Linked DNA regions of Homo sapiens: all the other regions are linked to region 3. The links are contacts of gene promoters, found by promoter capture Hi-C in blood cells and fetal thymus (Javierre and others, 2016). All regions are on one chromosome and are shown on one strand. The core of a region is centred on a gene start or on the middle of the fragment in contact, and the rest is flanking DNA. Distances in the headings are between cores, read along the strand shown. Region 1 overlaps PKHD1L1 (PKHD1 like 1). Region 2 overlaps EBAG9 (estrogen receptor binding site associated antigen 9). Region 3 holds the start of EMC2 (ER membrane protein complex subunit 2). Region 4 overlaps EBAG9 (estrogen receptor binding site associated antigen 9).

Region 1 (3,030 bases), core at 462-2,961, 1.1 Mb before region 3:
CAGCCTTCTCCAGGGAGGCCTCCCAAGTCTGAGGGCTTGTATATCTAGCTGTAGCAGTACAGAACTGCTTCAGGTCCATGCACTACTATTACTACTTTGTCTTCACTGGTTTTTGGCATGGAGTGGCAGGTCTGATGCAGTCTGCACTGTTAACAGGTTCTCGCTGACCGTTCGACATGTGAGGGCATTCATTTCTGCTGATTGCCATCTAGAAACCAAAGACCTTAACTTGAAGGCCTCTTATTCCTGGCTGTAGGACTGTCTGCTCATAAATGCCTTTAATACATAGGTAACCCCTTTCTAGGACATCTGGGAATTTCTGGATATCCTGATACTATATAAAAGCTATAAGGAGCCAGGAGTACAACTACATGAACATCTTTCTTGCCACTTCTCAACATTTTGCTGTGATTCACCAAGTTGTAGGGTTCTCCTTGAGACTTGAAACACTATCGCAGTCTATGTCTAGAAAATGTGCCATTAGCCTGTCCCTCCCACCATCCCTAACTTCTACATTCTTCAGTGGTCTTATACCTGTCTGGATAAATCTAACAAGCTAAAACTGCTTTAAGGGGATGGATGTAGGAGGGATTGTATGTGGGGAAATATATGTCACATGTAAGAAATAAATCCCAGTTTCTTTGGATATCTAGTGGCTAGTGTGGTAAATTTTGGACCTCACGACACGTAAGGGCTCACCAGGGATTTCTAAGAGTAGGTGAGTAATCTGTATATGTGCCATGGGCCCTTTACAACTCCTAAAATAACAGGCAAAGTCATGCTGAGTCCAAACCCTGAGCCTGTAAGTCCAAGTGAGTACAGAACTGACGAAGGAAAGTTAACTATTACTCTGGGCAGAGAACATCGTGGGAGATCTGGTTGCAACACAAGCCTAGGCTTCCTACGCTCTTCTAACCAAGAGTTTATAAACACCTCCCTCCACACAGGCAAGCCTTCCCACAGGCTTATCCCCCCAATGGAAGAAACTTCCACCTGCTTAGCTGATAGAATTCCAGAGTGATAATGTGGTAGGTGCATAGGGTCAATGCCTAGAAGCAAACCTCTTGGGAAAATGAGTGAAGATCTCTAGTGGCATAAAGTGAGAACTTCACCCAGTACCCAGGTTTACACAGAGCCTGGGAGTTTAATGATAAAGTGACTGAACACAGGTAGATAGGGTAGATCCCAACCTAGTGGGGCTGCAGTTTATATATGTCTGGACGATCTCTTTAGGAAAAGGAATGCAGAAAAATCATACCTTTGTAGCTTTCATAATAACATTCAATGATTTGACCACATTATGAGGACCTCTCCTAAGGTATTGAAAGTGAAAGCCCCTCCCAGGACTTGTATCAGTGAGGGGGCTTGAAGTGTAAGCTTCATTAACTGGATGGTAAGTCTTCCTCTGACAGATACCTGCCTTTCCTGTTCTTGGGGAGGGGTACACCTAGATCAGAGTACTTGTGCTTGACCACTGAAGACAAAGGCATGGTTGCAGGTTAGCAGTGGGGGATATTATTGCATCCCAGAAGACCAGGAAAGTTCAGTAGTACCTCAAGAGATGCATATGTAGAGCAGAGAAGATGACCCACTCTGTACCAGAGGCTGTGAAGACAAGATGATAACATGAGGACGGAGGCCAGAACAGCCCCTTGGTATTCAGACCCCAACTTGAAAGGAGCAGATGGATAGAGAAAATTTGAAGAGCTGAGCATTTACTCAAGTGCCCAAACTGAGTGACCCTAAGGAAATGATTTCAGCCAGCAGAGATTTCTCTGATGGGACAGTTGAGCTTATTTTTTTATCTCTGATAAAAAATAGGAAGTGAGGGACACAGAGAGGGGATGATGGCTTGTGAGGATGATTCGCTCAGTCACAGGAAATAAAGACAGATTATGTACTTGCACATCTGCCCTTTTTGGGCTGAATCTGTGACTTTACTGTGGAAATCTAACCCACCAATCTACTGCTCAGAATATCCAAGAATATTTACTCTTTTTCTTAAGAAAACATCCACAGTCCTTCCTTTGACTTCCAAAGCTTTCCACATCTAGCACCTGTCTACCCCTTGGCTACACCTCCAGCAGCTTGTCCTTCCTGGCTCCTTCCACTCCAGACCAATCGGACCTGTTTCCTCTCTTCAAATGCACCAAACTCTCACCAACAGTTTCCATAGCTTGAACACTCTTTTTCCTCTGTCTTTTCATTGACTATCTTCATCCTTAATCTCTCATCTGTAAGGTCACTTGCTTAAGTAGGTCTTCCCAGATCTTTTTATATTAGATCAAATTCTTTTGTTGAACTTATTAATCATCACAATAACAAAACAGAGATTCAAATTCCTTCCAATTCTAAAACAGTTTGGTAGTACAGGAGCAAAGAAGGAAAAAGGGTCTCTGGGCACTTAGAGGGTTCAGGATGTGGGGTTGATGGGATTTCCTGAGGCCAGGCTCACCAAGCCCTGATCAGGTTATTTATGGATATGGATTTGGTAATTGCATTCCTCCATCTCAAACACCTGTTATTCATACCTGTGGTGCCATTGCTTATGAACTGAATAGGAGGGTCTCCAATCTCTATTTCAATTATGAATCCCATGGATCTCTTCCTCCTCAGACTCTTCCCTCTTATTTTGCTGATACGGATTTTGTCACTTGGTATCTTTAGGAACAAGGCAAGATTTTTAACCAGATTGTGAGAGGTATAAAAGTCATCTTCTGTTGCAACAGATAATTGGAAAGAAACAAATATCACTGTGGCAGTGTGAATTTCAACAGGTATAGTTCCTTTAACCAAAAGATAAAGCATCTGGTAGGTTCCATCAAAGTAGTTTTCACCAAGGACAGTGGAATCCAGGTTAGGAAGGAATTGGTCTATGAAGGAAAAAAGCCAGAACATCACAGCTAAGTATTTTATATTATCACAATCAACATGCGTTACTTAATGTTTGTTTGAATTTAGAAAGTCCCCCAAATTCAACTTTATCATTCTTTCATAAGAAAGCATACCTTTTTAAAAACAAAAACACTT
Region 2 (2,874 bases), core at 51-2,550, 1.1 Mb before region 3:
GAGGCCTTAGAAATCATAGTCTACATAGACTGTTGATTAACCACTATTATAACCTCCTCTCTAAGGTTGCTATTTTCCATTCCATTAATCAAGTACACAATTTATTTTCTAGGCCTTGGTTTCCTTATATGTGAAATAAGGGTAGTATCTCTTACAGGATTGCTAAGAGTCACTGATATAATTAGTCAAAGACTCAGACTTACAATAAATGTTTTCTTTCTTGCTAAATTTCAAGTTCAATTTAAAGGTGTATAAAATACTGCAAGATTAGGCAACTTCTCCCACTCTTTGCAGGGAAGGGGCTGCCAATACCACTGCATGGTGAGATGTGGGAAGTATATAGGGCCTCATACCAACTTCCAATTATTGAGTGCTTATACTGAACACTTATGTACAGTCTCAATCCTTACAACCACCATTTCCATTTAAAAGATTTGCAAACTCTGGCAATTTGTTTAATGCTGTACTACCTCTACAGAAGCTCTGAGAACTCTGGGAACCTCTCAGAGCCGGGGTGATCTGATCAATGTATATAAGGAAAGCATCTACAGAAAGATCCCCTGAAAAGAAGTCCCCTGAAAGGGAAGGCTGGGATTATCTTGGACTGGCCGCAGACTTTCAGTGAGCTTCTCTGCAAAAGTTTCCACTGGTGAACTAGCAGTGTCAGCAGGAGGTATGAAAGGATAGAAACAAATCTGTTGTTGAAGGTAAAAGATGGTCAAGGAGGTCCCTAGAATAGAGTGTTTCTTTCAAGCTATAGAAGATCGAAGGTGTCTGGTGAAAAAGCATTTTACTAGCTCTCAAAACCTACTCTGGTTATTGAGTATGCCCAATGGTCATGACCAAGAGGGATGGAAGATAAAAAGCAGAAGGCAATGTAAAAAAAACAAAAAACAGTTGAGTATAAAAAGAGTACCTAGCTGTTGCTGTAAGCTTGGGATAGTTTTGGTTAAAGAAAAGTGAAAGGAATTACACAAAGAAAAAAATAAATCTCTTCGTATTGTATTAGGACAGAGCAGTTCAAATTTAAAAAAAAAACTATGCAAATGACAAAAACAAGTTTAAGTTATTAGCTACTAAATATGCTCTTCATGAACCCACTATCTTCTTCAGCCCTCCAGTTCACCTGAGAGGGTATTAGCTCCTTCCCTGGAACAATCTGTAGGCTCTAGCCCACTCCCAACCTCCCAGCAGGGATCCATTCGGAACCCTGTCATGTTTGCTTACATGCCTGAAGATTTCCTTTGAGCAAGGGGTTTAAGGAGTATGAAAACCATCGTTGGTTATTCCAAATCTGAACTTCATAGGATCAAACAAGATGAGTATGTTAGCTCTGTCTGGCTCAAACCATCCTTTAGTAAACATACCATTCTCAACAAAATTCAGGCTTTTTGGAACACTGACTATGGTTAGGTTTACGCCATGGTGGTAGCTTGTAGAGTGGTGTTGGAAGCTCGATCCAGATGCTGGTTTCTGTAGGTACCTTCTGCCCAATCACCAATCTTCATGTAGAAACAACCTAGAAATAATCACCCAGAGGCAAGTGCATGTCAAAACTGAGAAATTCGGATGCAGAATTTCAAATTTTCAGTTCTAAAATGTCAACTCAATTAAACATGCTATACTAAAAGAAGAGCCAAGTAGAGAATATCCCTAGGTAAAGCTTAAGAAGAGGAAATGGCTAGAAACCATGAAATTACTACATAAAAAACAAAACAAAACAAAAAAAAACACAAGGTAAGTTTCCCATGTCTTTGATTACTTGTTATCTCAGTACATGAAATGCACGATTTTGCTAATGGTTAAAACTTCACTAATTCTATCTATGCCTACCAGTATTTCTTATTATTTCTAATAAGCATCTAAAACTGACAATTCTTTATTGAAATCAAGAAAACAAAAAATAGAAACCATAAATTTAGTAGCTAAAAGAGACAGTATGCTACCATGAATTGTTTGTCATATGCATTTAACTCAGTGACTACTTTTGGGACCAAAATATACCCAAGTTAATACAGGAATTTAGTTTACACATCAATAGAGATAAAATAAATTCCAGAATTGTTATCTATTCTTTCCACAAGAAAAATCTATTTCTTCCTAATCATACTAACTATAATTGCTAATGTCTTTATTTTTAAATAATCAAAAACCAAAAAGCCAAACAACAACAACAAAAACCTCAAACACATGAAAATCATGACCAAACCAAACTTAAATACTTTTCAGCTACTAGGGAAAAGCAATACAAGTAATTGAGCTAAAGGAAGTTATCCTTTATGAATTCCAAATTTAGAGAAGATATGTTGTATTCCCATAATAACTAACTATAAATACAAAGAAGGAAGAGAATACATTATTAAAACTTTGAGCCCAATTCTATTTAAGTTGGGAGTTTATTAGCAGAAATTCTAATGAATATAATAACTGGAAATATAATTTGGGGCTATAAAAAGCTCTGTACCAAAGTTAACTTTCATCTTATTCTATAATCACATTTAGTCTGAAAGCTTAGGCTAAGGGCTTAAAGGGTTCTCATTGTATAACTTATGATTTTTCTATAAAATATCACTTTAAGTAAAATAAATTAGTAAGGTTTGGCCTGTACAGTATCTATGACATTTCAAAATCTCACCGAATGTTGATTCTAGGCAGTAACTTAAGAAAGTAAAAATCCTTAAAAATTCCAAAATGATAGGAAAATCAGGCTGGATGCATTTCAACTGCGGTGAAAAGGTTAATGGGATTTTAAACTATGAAGTCTACTTTTCCCCTACAGACCCAGTATTTATTTCCTTAAGACTATTTTGGAGCCAATCAACATCATAAATAAAAGATTATTATTCCCACCTTTATGATTTAATGAATCAATAA
Region 3 (2,943 bases), core at 311-2,810:
TATTATTCCAAATTAATTACATCAATCCTCTTTAGAATGACCACAGGGTAAGGTCCAATTACTCAGTTAAATCACCTTGTCTGTTGGTAGTATACAGCTACTCGTCCCTCAGGATTTTATATATGCTACTATCATCTAGGAAACCTATAATGAACATACCTTCATAATAGCATTTTCTAAAAATTATGTAATATTTAAAACATTTTTTAAAAAGCATTAAAAATAACATCCATTTATCTACGACTCAGCTTACGGAAGATACCCTGACACAAGCCTTTTAAAACTGTGTGTTTACAGGTTTGTTTTCTCCATTAGATTGTGACTTCCTTGGAAGTGGGGACTGTGTGTTGACAGAGCCAAGATTTTGCAGTAAGAAATCAACACTGTTGTTTAATATAATGGAATCCCTCAATTCAGGTATAAATACTGAGATTCACAACGTGCTAGAGGCCATAAAGTCAATAAATCATTTAATTCAGTTCAAGTACAAAGAAATTTTGCTTTATTTGTAACGGATTTACAACTTTATAATAACTGATATATTTATTCACGATAAAACAGAAAATACAACTTTCGGTCCACATGTTTTCAGGTCATTATTAAAACATCCCAAGAAGGCATTCGTTAAGCAAATTAGCTACTGAAGTCTCCTGTATTATGTTAAATGCTGGGAATATGAATTCCAATTACACAAATTCCACGCCTTAATGAAACTCAAGTTTCTTAAGCACACAGAATTGATCCAAGGTTTGGCTGTTCCCAGATTTAAAGAACATATCCCACTCTAGATCAACTAAGGATAGGGAAAAGTGACCATCACACGTAAGCACTTACGTAGCCCAGAGTTAATTAGTTATTTTTCCCTTCAGAAAAGAAACTACTAGTAGGGAGTAAGAAAGAAGTTGTGTTGTGTGTGTAAATGTGTTTTGAGAAGGAGTGGGACAGAGACTAGACTAAAAGGAAAAGAAACTGGAAACCCGGGTTTAAGAAGAAAACTAAATGTAGAGTGGCATATGAGAATCACATTTGTTCACGCATCTTTTACACAGCTTTTCTGCACAGAGCTGTAATCCTTACACACCACTTAGTAAAGGGCCTTACAGGCCCTGTGTTTCTTGGCTCCAAAGAAGCTTCAGTAACCACCTATTCCGCCTCTTCCGCACCGCCCAGCAACCAGTTAGCGTGCGACAACCCCAGCCCCAAGTCCCTCCCGCCCGCCTCATAAATAAAAGCGGCCCCGGGACGCTGGACTGGCGCGGAGGAGGGCAGGTCAACCGAGGAGCAGACACCGTGGGAAACGCTGCAGAGTACGCGTCCGGGCCAAGGGAAGGGTCAGCCTCAGCCTCCACCTCAGCTTGGCCCGTACAGTGAGGGCTCTGGTACCAAAAAGACACCAGAGAACCCAGCTCCCCGAAAGCAGCGGGTACTCCCGAACGGCTTCCCAGCGCTTTTAGTCTTTCCGCACCCGCCCCCACCCGAAGTTACCTTCCCAAGTGACATCGTAAAGCTCTGAGACCTTCGCCATCTTCCCAGAACCTAGAGGCAGCGGGGTGAGAGGGCGGGGAGACGCAGTCACGTGACCCGCCACCGGGCGGTGGAGAGTTACGTAGCTTTTTCTCATTGGCCAAGAGAGCAGAGGGGGCGGTATCCGCCACGCACGTGCACGCGGCTCTGCGGAGGGGCTTTCGGGGAAGGGGGCGGAGCGAGCTGGGCGGAGCGAGCTGGACGGTGGACGGAGCTAGGTGGGCGGTGCGTGGCGCTCCCGCAATCTCAGGATACCCTGGCTGCTGGCGGGGCTACGGTGCTGGCTCGGGGTGAGGTGTGTGTGTGTGTTGACGTGGATTTTTAACAAATGCTGGGTTTTTAGTGTCCGTCAATCCTGGCTTTTCAGTTTTTTCTACCTAGGCTTGTTCATTCTCTTCACACTCCCTTAAGTACCCTTATTCTCTTCATGGCCGGCCGCAGTGCAGCCTTCTGCACGAATCCCTTATTTGTCCCCAACTTTCCTCCTTCCGTAATGGGATTTGCTTTCCGTTCACTTTTTAATCGACTAAACGGATAAACTCCAAAGTTTTGAGAGACTAAGTGGGATTCTTCCTTTGCGCTCTGAAGTTCCCTTGAATGCCCTCGCGCTAGCTTATACCCTTCATTAACGCTCGTCGTGCCTGTCATTGCTTCATCCATGTCTGCATGCCACACTAGGTTTCAAACTGTCGCGAGTATGTAAGTACTTATAAGGAATGAATGTACGAATGAGACCTTCACAGTTCCTGAACTTCGCTCCTCATTACTCCTGGGTGGATGGGGGAGCCTCCTTTCCCACCAGACTAATTGCTTTTAGGAAACTTTGGACGTCATCTCCTAGACTTAAGGAGAAATGTCTGGACAGGAAGTAAAAAATTTGAGGATGATAAGCGTATATTTAGTATTTGAAGCAATGGGGACATGAGATTGTAGAGGAAATATGTAAGCTGAGAAAAAACTAAAAATCACTGCAATGCAGCCGAAAGTTATTGGTCAGTAAAGAAGGGGCAGTTGATTTGAGAAGTAGAAATAATACTATCCCACAAGTCAAAAGAGTGGAGGGTTTTTTTTCTCAGCTTTATTGAGGTGTAATGGACAAAAATTGTGTATATTTAAGGTATACAAAGTAATGATTAGATGTAAATATACACTGTGAAATGATTACCACAAGCAAGCTAATTAACACATCTATCACCGTACATATTTCCTGTGTGTGTGTGTGTGTGTGTGTGTTGAGAACACTTAAAAATCTCTCAGCAAACTTCAAAGTATACAATACAGAATTATAACTGTAGTCACCATGCTGTACATTCGATCTCCAGAACATATTCATCTTACAACCAAAAGTTTGTACTATTTGACCAACATCTCTCCATTCCTCACCTGTCGGCTCCAGTCAACCGCAGAGGTTTTTTTGTT
Region 4 (2,971 bases), core at 250-2,749, 1.1 Mb before region 3:
TGATTGCTGTCCATTTCCTCTTTTACTATACCCTCCTCTTAGTATGTAAGTAACTTTTTCACAGTACCCTTAGGCCACAGAAACACCTAACAATTCCACTGAATAAGGTAGTTACACCCAAAAAACTTAAGTATATCCTAACTGCTTAGTAGCCATTGTAAAAAATACACATTTAAAGAAAAAGTAATATTTTTATTTTATTCTTAAATAACCACAATCACTGAACTTATTAATGAAATTTGTGTGCCTGTTGAACACTGCACAGCTTCTTATGCCTTAGAATAAGACTGGAGACCATCATTCTTGTTTTCAGTTCTACATTAATTTTGGTGCAGTACTCGCTTTTAATTACAACCTAAAATCCTGGCTTTGCAATGAGATGTCACCAAAAATATAAGTAAACAAAAACTTATCTCAAACATTAAAGAACACCATCATAAAAAAATACTGCAGGATTTAATGTTGCAAATGTGAACTACTTTGAGTTGAGGTATTCAACAGATGCTATCACTATGTTTCACTGCAAAATTTAAAATATTCTATGGCATCCCTGTGAATTTCATGTAAAGCCCTGAGGTGCCTCAGCACACATTTTAGACATCATAGCTCTTGGGTATGATCGTGTGACAAAACAGAAGGAACTGAAGTCTACAGATGATGTCCTAAAGCAAATGACTTACCTGCTCTTGACTTCCTGCATATTCTAGAATGTTACTCAAACAGAAAAAAAAATTTTTTTTTTTTAGGATTTTTCTTAGGATTTTTTTTTAAATATAAAAACAACACTATTGTAGTATAGACAGAAATACCTATTCCGAATTTCACCTAACCACTTTAAAACATTCCCATAATGAAACGAATACATCAAAGTTCTGTGATGATTATAATAATGAAAGTTGGTCTGTCTATTCCTAAATAGTATTAAGCATGTTATTTTAGTGGAAAGTGTAAGAATTTGAATGAACAAAACAACTGAACCTCTATTTTCTAGATCTGAAGTAGAGAAAAAGTATCTAAAAATGACTAGGAATTAATGAATAAATACTGCAATCAAGATATTCAGCTTAAATATAACCTGTCCTGTCCACGAAATTTGAAGTTTTGAAGGTATCCAAAACCAGCGAGGAGATAAACAGGTTAGTTTGAACATAAAACTTATTTACCTGCATATTAATCTCTTTAGGAATGAGAATACTGTTGCTAGGCAGGTACAAAATTTAAATAACCGAAACTGGGTGATGGCCATGGTGGGAATCAAAACCTGTGGAAGAGGCACAAAACAAAAAATGCATTAAATTGATTTCAAAAGTCATACTCCTGTCCTGAAAAGACCTATTATGCACTAAGAAAAATCTAAGATATTTTTTACCTTTCTCTAGAAACTATAACACAGTAAATTTTAAAATTATAATTTAAATCATATTAACAAGTCAAAAACCAGGTTTTCGAGTTTTCAATGGTTGTAAGGATAAAACCCTTCATTCTGAGTTTTTGAAAATAATTTTACCTAAATCTATTAATACAAAAATCTACAATTCAAAAAATAAAAAAGTATAAAATAGAATATATTAAATCTCTGTGTACCTTTTAAAGTTTGAACCACATGAACATAATACTATTTAAAATACTTTAAATATTTTTAACTTGCAGATGAATATATTTCCTTATATCCATTTTATAGATGAGGAAATTGAATTAAGAGAGGTCAAATAACTTGACCAAAGTCACATAGCTAGTAAATTGAAAGTTACCATGGAGCTCATTTAGTCCAGTGGTTCACAAATCTGGGAATCTATTAAAGAAATGCCAATACCTAGGAGTACCTCTAGTAAGTCCATTAAATCATATATTCTGAGGGGCAAGGACTGGTCATAACCAATAAGACAAGCAGGGAGATAAAAACTACTCAATTGAAAAGGCAGCAGGAAACAAAGAAAAGAGAACAAATAACACATGGGACAAGCCAAAAACAAATAAGATGACAGACGTAAATCTAACCATATCAATAATCTCATTAAATGCAAATTGTATAGCATTCCAATTGAAAAGCAGAGATTGTTAGATTGAATAAGAAAGAAAGACCGCCCCACTCCATGTTGCCAATGAGAAATGCATTTTAAATAAAAAGACACAAATAGGTTAAAAGTAAAAGGATAGGAGAAAATATACTATGCTAGCACTAATCAAAAGAAAGGTGAAGTGACTATTTCAATGTTAGACAGATTATAGGAAAAATAACATTACCAGGTATAAAAGTGGTCATTTCACAGTGATAAAGGGGTCAATTAATAAAAAGTACATAACAATCTAAAACACGTGTCCTTAATAACAGACTTTTGCCAATATCATAAACAAGACAGATAACATTGTTAGAGTCTGCAGATATTAAAAGGATACTGAAGAACTATTACAAACACCTTTGTGCCTGTATTTACTTGACAAGTGAGATGAAATGGACAACTTCCCTGAAAGACACAAATTACTAAAGCATAAGAAGAACAACCTGAAAATCTATATATCTATTAAAGAAATTATATTTGTAGTTATAAAAATCTCCCAGACACAGATGGCTTCACTGGTAAATTCTACAAAACACTTAGGAAGGAATAATACCAATTCTATACAAACTGCCAAAAAACTGAAGAAGGAATATTTCCCCAACTCATTATTTGAGGCCAGTATTACACTGATACTAATCCAAAGATATTACTAGAAAAGAAAACTATTAATATTCTATGAATCTAGACACAAATCTCCTTAGCCAAATATTAGTAAATTAAATCCAACAATATATAAATGGATACTACATTGTGAAAAACTGGTGCTTAGTTTGGAAATGTTGGATTGGTTTAACATTTAAAAATCAAATGTCATTCACTATATTAGCAAACTAAAAACAAAAAACCATATAAACATCTCAATAGAGACAGAAAAAGCCTTTGACAAAACTCAACATCCATTCCTGTTAAAA

Evidence for each region. The method cuts DNA at HindIII sites, captures the fragments that hold promoters and counts their contacts. A CHiCAGO score of 5 or more calls a contact.
Region 1: a fragment that was not itself captured here is called in contact with the fragment with the promoter of EMC2 in region 3 in 1 of 17 cell types (total CD4 T cells); the score reaches 5.6 in total CD4 T cells.
Region 2: a contact is called between a fragment that was not itself captured here and the fragment with the promoter of EMC2 in region 3, in 5 of 17 cell types (non-activated CD4 T cells, total B cells, total CD8 T cells and 2 more). The highest score is 9.3, in non-activated CD4 T cells.
Region 4: a fragment that was not itself captured here is called in contact with the fragment with the promoter of EMC2 in region 3 in 6 of 17 cell types (total CD4 T cells, non-activated CD4 T cells, naive CD8 T cells and 3 more); the score reaches 9.5 in total CD4 T cells.

Annotation. Positions count from the first base shown.
Region 1 is chr8:109,518,010-109,521,039 of GRCh38, reverse strand. It overlaps PKHD1L1 (PKHD1 like 1), which reads right to left. Exons shown (of 78, transcript NM_177531.6): 73 at 2,532-2,873. Among named protein-coding and RNA genes, the nearest start is that of EBAG9UORF, 20 kb to the left of the region's middle. The HindIII fragment of the contact is 663 bases long and covers 1,380-2,042 here.
Region 2 is chr8:109,565,500-109,568,373 of GRCh38, reverse strand. It overlaps EBAG9 (estrogen receptor binding site associated antigen 9), which reads right to left. Exons shown (of 7, transcript NM_004215.5): 7 at 2,378-2,874. Among named protein-coding and RNA genes, the nearest start is that of EBAG9, 27 kb to the right of the region's middle. The HindIII fragment of the contact is 730 bases long and covers 936-1,665 here.
Region 3 is chr8:108,442,241-108,445,183 of GRCh38, reverse strand. It overlaps EMC2 (ER membrane protein complex subunit 2), which reads right to left and starts at 1,560. Exons shown (of 11, transcript NM_014673.5): 1 at 1,486-1,560. The coding sequence starts at 1,525. It overlaps LOC105375704 (a long non-coding RNA gene), which reads left to right and starts at 1,712. Exons shown (of 3, transcript XR_928530.4): 1 at 1,712-1,814. RefSeq lists a silencer at 1,607-1,726. The HindIII fragment of the contact is 5,303 bases long and covers 1,133-2,943 here.
Region 4 is chr8:109,549,100-109,552,070 of GRCh38, reverse strand. It overlaps EBAG9 (estrogen receptor binding site associated antigen 9), which reads right to left. Exons shown (of 7, transcript NM_004215.5): 2 at 1,164-1,261. The coding sequence starts at 1,246. Among named protein-coding and RNA genes, the nearest start is that of EBAG9, 10 kb to the right of the region's middle. The HindIII fragment of the contact is 4,370 bases long and covers 1-2,971 here.